Linked DNA regions of Homo sapiens: region 1 is linked to region 2. Evidence: promoter capture Hi-C in 16 types of primary human blood cells and fetal thymus (Javierre and others, 2016). All regions are on one chromosome and are shown on one strand. Each heading gives the region's core, a stretch centred on a gene start or on the middle of the fragment in contact. The rest is flanking DNA. Distances are from core to core; before and after follow the strand shown.

Region 1 (3,744 bases), core at 929-3,428, about 42 Mb before region 2:
TGAGCACTAAAAGGAGGGGTCCCTGAAGCTTTCCCACTATAGTGTGGAGTTCTGTCCCTGAGGTGGGTACAGCAGCCTTGGTTCCTCTGGGGGTTGAGAATAAGAATAGTGGGGAGGGAAAAACTCCTCCTTGAAGATTTCCTGTCTCAGAGTCCCAGAGAGGTAGAAAGGAGGAATTTCTGCTGGACTTTATCTGGGCAGAGGAAGGATGGAATGAAGGTAGAAAAGGCAGAATTACAGCTGAGCGGGGACAACAAAGAGTTCTTCTCTGGGAAAAGTTTTGTCTTAGAGCAAGGATGGAAAATGGGGACAACAAAGGAAAAGCAAAGTGTGACCCTTGGGTTTGGACAGCCCAGAGGCCCAGCTCCCCAGTATAAGCCATACAGGCCAGGGACCCACAGGAGAGTGGATTAGAGCACAAGTCTGGCCTCACTGAGTGGACAAGAGCTGATGGGCCTCATCAGGGTGACATTCACCCCAGGGCAGCCTGACCACTCTTGGCCCCTCAGGCATTATCCCATTTGGAATGTGAATGTGGTGGCAAAGTGGGCAGAGGACCCCACCTGGGAACCTTTTTCCCTCAGTTAGTGGGGAGACTAGCACCTAGGTACCCACATGGGTATTTATATCTGAACCAGACAGACGCTTGAATCAGGCACTATGTTAAGAAATATATTTATTTGCTAATATATTTATCCACAAATGTGGTCTGGTCTTGTGGTTTTGTTCTGTCGTGACTGTCACTCAGGGTAACAACGTCATCTCTTTCTACATCAAGAGAAGTAAATTATTTATGTTATCAGAGGCTAGGCTCCGATTCATGAAAGGATAGGGTAGAGTAGAGGGCTTGGCAATAAGAACTGGTTTGTAAGCCCCTAAAAGTGTGGCTTAGTGAGATCAGGGAAGGAGAAAGCATGACTGGATTCTTACTGTGCTTCAGTCATTATTATTATACTGTTCACTTCACACATTATCATACTTCAGTGACTCAGACCTTGGGCAAATACTCTGTGCCTCGCTTTTTCAGTCCATAAAATGGGCCTACTTAATAGTTGTTGCAGGACTTACATGAGATAATAGAGTGTAGAAAATATGTTCCAAAGTGGAAAGTTTTATTCAGTGATAGAAAACATCCAAACCTGTCACAGAGCCCATCTGAACACAGCATGGGACCGCCAACAAGAAGAAAGCCCGCCCGGAAGCAGCTCAATCAGGAGGCTGGGCTGGAATGACAGCGCAGCGGGGCCTGAAACTATTTATATCCCAAAGCTCCTCTCAGATAAACACAAATGACTGCGTTCTGCCTGCACTCGGGCTATTGCGAGGACAGAGAGCTGGTGCTCCATTGGCGTGAAGTCTCCAGGGCCAGAAGGGGCCTTTGTCGCTTCCTCACAAGGCACAAGTTCCCCTTCTGCTTCCCCGAGAAAGGTTTGGTAGGGGTGGTGGTTTAGTGCCTATAGAACAAGGCATTTCGCTTCCTAGACGGTGAAATGAAAGGGAAAAAAAGGACACCTAATCTCCTACAAATGGTCTTTAGTAAAGGAACCGTGTCTAAGCGCTAAGAACTGCGCAAAGTATAAATTATCAGCCGGAACGAGCAAACAGACGGAGTTTTAAAAGATAAATACGCATTTTTTTCCGCCGTAGCTCCCAGGCCAGCATTCCTGTGGGAAGCAAGTGGAAACCCTATAGCGCTCTCGCAGTTAGGAAGGAGGGGTGGGGCTGTCCCTGGATTTCTTCTCGGTCTCTGCAGAGACAATCCAGAGGGAGACAGTGGATTCACTGCCCCCAATGCTTCTAAAACGGGGAGACAAAACAAAAAAAAACAAACTTCGGGTTACCATCGGGGAACAGGACCGACGCCCAGGGCCACCAGCCCAGATCAAACAGCCCGCGTCTCGGCGCTGCGGCTCAGCCCGACACACTCCCGCGCAAGCGCAGCCGCCCCCCCGCCCCGGGGGCCCGCTGACTACCCCACACAGCCTCCGCCGCGCCCTCGGCGGGCTCAGGTGGCTGCGACGCGCTCCGGCCCAGGTGGCGGCCGGCCGCCCAGCCTCCCCGCCTGCTGGCGGGAGAAACCATCTCCTCTGGCGGGGGTAGGGGCGGAGCTGGCGTCCGCCCACACCGGAAGAGGAAGTCTAAGCGCCGGAAGTGGTGGGCATTCTGGGTAACGAGCTATTTACTTCCTGCGGGTGCACAGGCTGTGGTCGTCTATCTCCCTGTTGTTCTTCCCATCGGCGAAGATGGCCCTGGAGACGGTGCCGAAGGACCTGCGGCATCTGCGGGCCTGTTTGCTGTGTTCGCTGGTCAAGGTGTCAGTCGGGGACCTGGTTGTAGGGCCCATGGGGGACCAAGGTCGGGGAAAGAGGGCGGAATGGGGCTGTGGGACAGTAAAGAGAAAAGTTAAGTCTCAGAACTCAGAGGTGGCAGGGGGAGTGAGAAGCCGAAGGAGGCCATCGTTTACCTCGTAGGATCGCGGACAGGTCTTGCAGCTGAGGGCAGGGGCGGTCTTACATGCCTTTGAATCCTCAGCTCTTAGACGTTCGGTGAACTTACGTTGGAGCCGAAAGACACTGGGAGTCAGAGGCGGGTGGGGATCCGCTGCTGAGTGAGTAGTCGGAAAGGATGCCTGACCCTGAGTAGACTAGAGAAAGGAATAGATAAAACGGAATTGGGAACGAGAGAGGAAGGAGTGGGAGGGTGGGACTTAGGAATGAAGCTTTGAGAGTAGTAGGTGGGGAACCTTAGGATACACAGTCAACATAGGGAAACAAGAAATTGAGCAGGTCGAAGTATTGAGAAAGCTACTTTTTCTCTTGGTCTTGTTCATGCTTATCTCTCCTTTTCCTTTATTTTTCTTTCACTCCCAGACTATAGACCAGTTTGAATATGATGGTTGTGACAATTGTGATGCATATCTACAAATGAAGGGTAACCGAGAGATGGTATATGACTGCACTAGCTCTTCCTTTGATGGGTAAGCCGCTTCAGTTTCCATCATTCACTTCTGCATTACCCAACCTGCACCCAGAGAAGTAAATGCAGGGCAAGTGTTAATCCTAGTTGGGCCCAGCCATTCGTTTTTGGGGGTTATTTTGTGTGGGTTTTTTTTTTTTTTTTTTTTTTTGAATCAGGGTTTTGCTCTGTGGCTCAGGCTGGAGTGCAGTGGCATGATCATAGCTCACTGCAGCGTGGAATGATCCTCTGACTTCAACCTCCCAGAGTGCTGGGATTATAGGTGTAAGCCACTGTGTCCAGCCTCAACAGTTATTTTGGGACATACTAGTGCTATGCATCTAATACAGTGACCACTATCCACGTGTAGCTACTGAGCACTTGAAATGTGTCTAGTCCAAATTAAGACATGCTTTTAAGTATAAAATATACCCCAGATTTCAAAGACTTAACATGAGAAGAAAGAATGTAATCTTAATAATGTTTGTTAAATGCATGAAAATTTTTTTTGAAAATGAAGGGAAGGGAGGTGTAGTAATGGTAGATCATTGCCCAAAAGCTGTTGCTTTTTTTTTTTTTTTTTTTTTGGACAGACTTTTCGCCCTTGCCACTCATGCTGGAGTGCAATGGTGCAGTCTCGGCTCACTGCAACCTCTGCCTCCTGGGTTCAAGCAATTCTCCTGCCTCAGCCTCTTGAGTAGCTGGGATTACAGGCACCCACCACCACTCCCAGCTAATTTTTATATCTTTAGTAGAGACGGGGTTTCACCATGTTGGCCAGGCTGGTCT
Region 2 (3,769 bases), core at 339-2,838:
TCCCGCCGACATGCTCCGGAAGCTTGAGGTTTTAACGTTAAGGGTTCTCTTGTGTTTTAACACAGAAGTCTCCATGCCGTCCAGTTTCCTACCCTAGTCCTACCACACTGTACAATCGGTTTAAAAGGAAGCGTCTTATATATAAGCTCCCACTTATAGGAAGAGTTCCTTCCTCTTCATTTTCGAATTCATTTCTTAAAACTCGGGCCTTTCTCGTAATTATAGGGTTAGACAGCCCGTTATCCGTATGACAGTTTTCCAAAATAGCCAGTTACACCAACTTTGTTATTCCTTCTCACTTTTGGATGGCTTTCTTTACCTTTTTTTTTTTTTTTGAGAGGCTCTGTCGCCCAGGCTGGAGTGCAGTGGAGCGATCTCGGCTCACTGCAACCTCTGTCTCCCGGGTTCAAGCGACTCTTCTGCCTCAGCCTCCCGAGTAGCTGGGACTATAGGCGCGCGCCACCACGCCCAGCTAATTTTTGTATTTTTAGTAGAGAGGGGGTTTCACCATGTTAACTAGGCTGGTCTCGAACTCCTGACTTCGTGATCCGCTCGCCTCGGCCTCCCAAAGTGCTGGGATTACAGGCCTGAGCCACCGCGCCCGGCCCTTTCTTTTTTTTTTTTGAAACGGTCTGGCTCCGTCGCCCAGGCTGGAGTGCAGTGGCGCGACCTAGGTTCGCTGCTACCTCAGCCTCCCGCGTTCAAGCAATTCTCCCACTTCGGTCTCCCCAGTAGCTGGGATTACTGGCGCGCGCCACCACGCCCGCTTAATTTTTGTATTTTTAGTAGTGACGGGGTTTCTCCATGTTCGTCAGGCTGGTCTCGAACTCCTGACCTTAAGTGATGGCCCGCCTCGGCCTCCCTAAGTGCTGGGATTACAAGCGTGACCCACTGCGTCCGGTCGGGCCTGGCTTTTCTAAAGGAACGTATGCGTGCGGTTACGAGGAACCGTCGTTTCCCCAGCAGGGTGAGGCTGAGCGTGCACTTAACAGTCGCGAGGGCCACAGGCTCCTCTTGCAAGTAACTTAAGGTTAAGGAGCAACATCGTGGACAAATCGGCCTCGCCCAGCATTTCAGTGAGGGCTTGGTGCGAATTCCAGCCAGAGCCCTAGAAAGTATCTTGGGCAGGTCGAAATGCACCCCTCCAGCTCCCAGCCACGAGGGGACCGGCTTCCCTGTACGCAGCTCCGGCCAGAGGAGGCCGCCGCCGCCCCACCACGCCGCGGAGGGGTTTGCAGGGTCCCTTCCACGGCCTGGAGTTTTTCCTTTTCCCACGCCTGAGGAAGGCCTCGGGCGCGCGGAACAGACGGGCAGGCGGGGGGCGCACAAGCCCAGGGCACGATGGCAGCAGCGCTGGATCCGGCTGGGCGCTGCTCGGCCCCGTATCCGTCCGAGAGGACCGCCGCTGCCAGGCCTAGAGGAGACATGAAGAGACCGGGCGCAGCGCGACCCGGGAAGCTCCGCCGAGGTAGGAGAGGCGCCCGGCCAGCGGAGGGAGTTGGTCTCCCAACTCTCCGGAAGGAGGAGGAGCCGGCGCTGGAGCCGCCTTAGCCGCGGCTCCGCGGGCTGGGGGGAGGGAGAGGGGTTGAGTCAAGATGGCGGCCAAGGTGGCGAAGCAGCAGCCGCGGCGGCGGCGGCGGCTGGAGTGAGCGTCCGACTCGCCGCGCCGAACGAGGTCCCGGTGTAGGGCCGCGCGCCGTGGCCGCGTCCCACTCCTCAGGCCGGGGCGCACGTCGGCTCCCACGCTTAGCCAGCTCCCGGTGAGTAGGCCCTGGCGCCTGCAACCCCGGCCTCCGGGCTCCTGCTAGTCCGGGGGCTTCCGAGGGCTCCCGGGGCAGCAGCCGCTGGGACGGTTTCTCCGCCGGGCGGGGGGTGTCGCAGGCCTGGGCAGGTCGGGACCCGTCCTGGCCGCCTGGCCTCTTCCACTCGGCAGCCCAGGAGAGAGCCGGGCGCGGCGGGGAGCTCGGGCTGGGCTAGCGGAGGCTTATGGAGTTTGGAGGAAGAATGGGCTGTGGCCGGGCCGGGGCTGGCCCCGAGGTGTCCTGTGCGGAGGGGCGTGCGGAGCCTACAGGGCCTGCGAGGGAGAGCGGGCAGCCGGTGCCCCGGGTGGGGCCGGCGCAGGTGGCGGGCCTGGGCTCACTGAGGCGGAGTTGGTGGCCGACTTGGAAGTGTAGAAGGGGCTGCGGAGGTTGACAGCCATGGACAAGTGCGTGCAGAGTAAATTAGTTCACCTTTCTAACAGACCGCTTCAGGGTGTAATGGCGAAGGCTGGGTACTGGTGGAGATGGCAAAGATCCGAACACTATACCTTCTGCCGTTTATTGTTGGTGTTTTCTTAAGCGAAGTCCGTAAGTGCACCCCTTTTTGGGGAGAGAGGAATTTGAGAAACTGTAGTTGTGAAATCAGCCTTTATGGAGAGGAGACTGAATTCTTCAAATTAACTGGATCAGGAATAGTCATGTATTAAAGGAATGGATGGGAATAAGTGATATGGACGAAAACTATTTGCTCAGGAAGTGTCAGTTTTCTTTATGTGATGTTGCATGCTGCGGTGCCTCTTCCACAGAGTTAACCTTGGAGAGTAGTAGTATAGGTAATTCTAATCTTTGGGATTAGTATGTAAACCTGCATCAGATTTGCTTCTCTAATTATATCCTAATTATATTGAAATTTACATTCCTTGTGTGCACCCTGGTGAGGCAGTGATGGAAGGCTGAACATGGCACTGTGCAAGGAGCAACAGGCCCGGGATTTAAAAATGCCTACAAAGATTCATTCATTCGTTCAATATATCTTGATCAATAGCTGCTGATGCTGGGTCACATGTGATTGTCCTGTGGATAACTGAAGAGTTGATGGCATCGTTTAATTTTTAATAGCTTTTTAAAATGTTTTGATGTACCTTTTCATGAAGATATTTATTGGATGAACCAACTTGTACTTGCCCGGGCTCAGGAGCAGACCAATTTTAGAATGTTATTTAGACAAGGGTAACAATTACAGAAGAAGTAACCGCAAGTTACTGGAGAGAGAAATCTTGTATCTTTTTTTCTTTTTCTGTTAACATCCGGTGGAAGTTTATTTATTTGTTTTAATATTTATAGTACCCAGTTGCTTGGCCTTGCTTTAAGCACACCTGTTAATGGAAATCAAGATTAATTGTATATATGGATATAGCTATGTATAAAATGCTCACAGTAGGAACTGATTACTTACAATACTAAAATACTCTTTCCTTTTACAAAAGGCTTGCCATATGTTGAACTACTCCCCCGGAGAAAATATAATACAAAGTATCTTGATTCTTGCTCTAACTATGTGATTTTGGAACTTGATCAACCTTTCTGTGCTTCAGTTTCCTCATCTTGAATATTAGGTAAACATCTACTCTCCTAGGGTTGGCTGTTGTGAGCCTAAAGGGAGTTAATAGTTATAAAATTGTTTTAAACAGATTGAAGGGGTTATATTTCTGTGAGGTGGTAACAGCTCCCTCTGGGCTCCTGTAATGCTTTTTCTGCACATCTCTCGCGGCATTTACACTTTCTATCTTGTAGGTATTTATGTACCTATTTTATCTCTTGAGAGCAGGATAGGCCCTTCGCTGATTTTATCTTTTTTTTTTTTTTTTTTTTGAGACAGTCTTGCTCTGTCACCCAGGCTGGAGTGCAGTGGCGCAATCTCAGCTCATTGCAACCTCCGCCTCCGGGTTCAAGCAATTCTTCTGCCTCAGCCTCCCGAGTAGCTGGGACTACAGGCGCGTGCCACCATG

The links. Contacts are between HindIII fragments. The CHiCAGO score rates a contact against its expected background, and 5 or more counts as called.
Region 1: a contact is called between the fragment with the promoter of SUPT4H1 here and the fragment with the promoter of NCOR1 in region 2, in 1 of 17 cell types (non-activated CD4 T cells). The highest score is 9.2, in non-activated CD4 T cells.

The regions. Positions count from the first base shown.
Region 1 is chr17:58,350,635-58,354,378 of GRCh38, reverse strand. It overlaps SUPT4H1 (SPT4 homolog, DSIF elongation factor subunit), which reads left to right and starts at 2,178. Exons shown (of 5, transcript NM_003168.3): 1 at 2,178-2,312; 2 at 2,871-2,977. The coding sequence starts at 2,244. It overlaps TSPOAP1-AS1 (TSPOAP1, SUPT4H1 and RNF43 antisense RNA 1), which reads right to left. Exons shown (of 5, transcript NR_038410.1): 4 at 2,465-2,635; 5 at 652-2,380. It overlaps RNF43 (ring finger protein 43), which reads left to right. Exons shown (of 10, transcript NM_017763.6): 10 at 1-703. RefSeq lists an enhancer at 862-1,397 and silencers at 1,785-2,214, 2,495-2,604. The HindIII fragment of the contact is 2,691 bases long and covers 31-2,721 here.
Region 2 is chr17:16,213,353-16,217,121 of GRCh38, reverse strand. It overlaps NCOR1 (nuclear receptor corepressor 1), which reads left to right and starts at 1,588. Exons shown (of 46, transcript NM_006311.4): 1 at 1,588-1,760. RefSeq lists enhancers at 1-136, 1,323-1,382, 960-1,875, 1,876-2,792 and a silencer at 1,653-2,122. The HindIII fragment of the contact is 4,024 bases long and covers 25-3,769 here.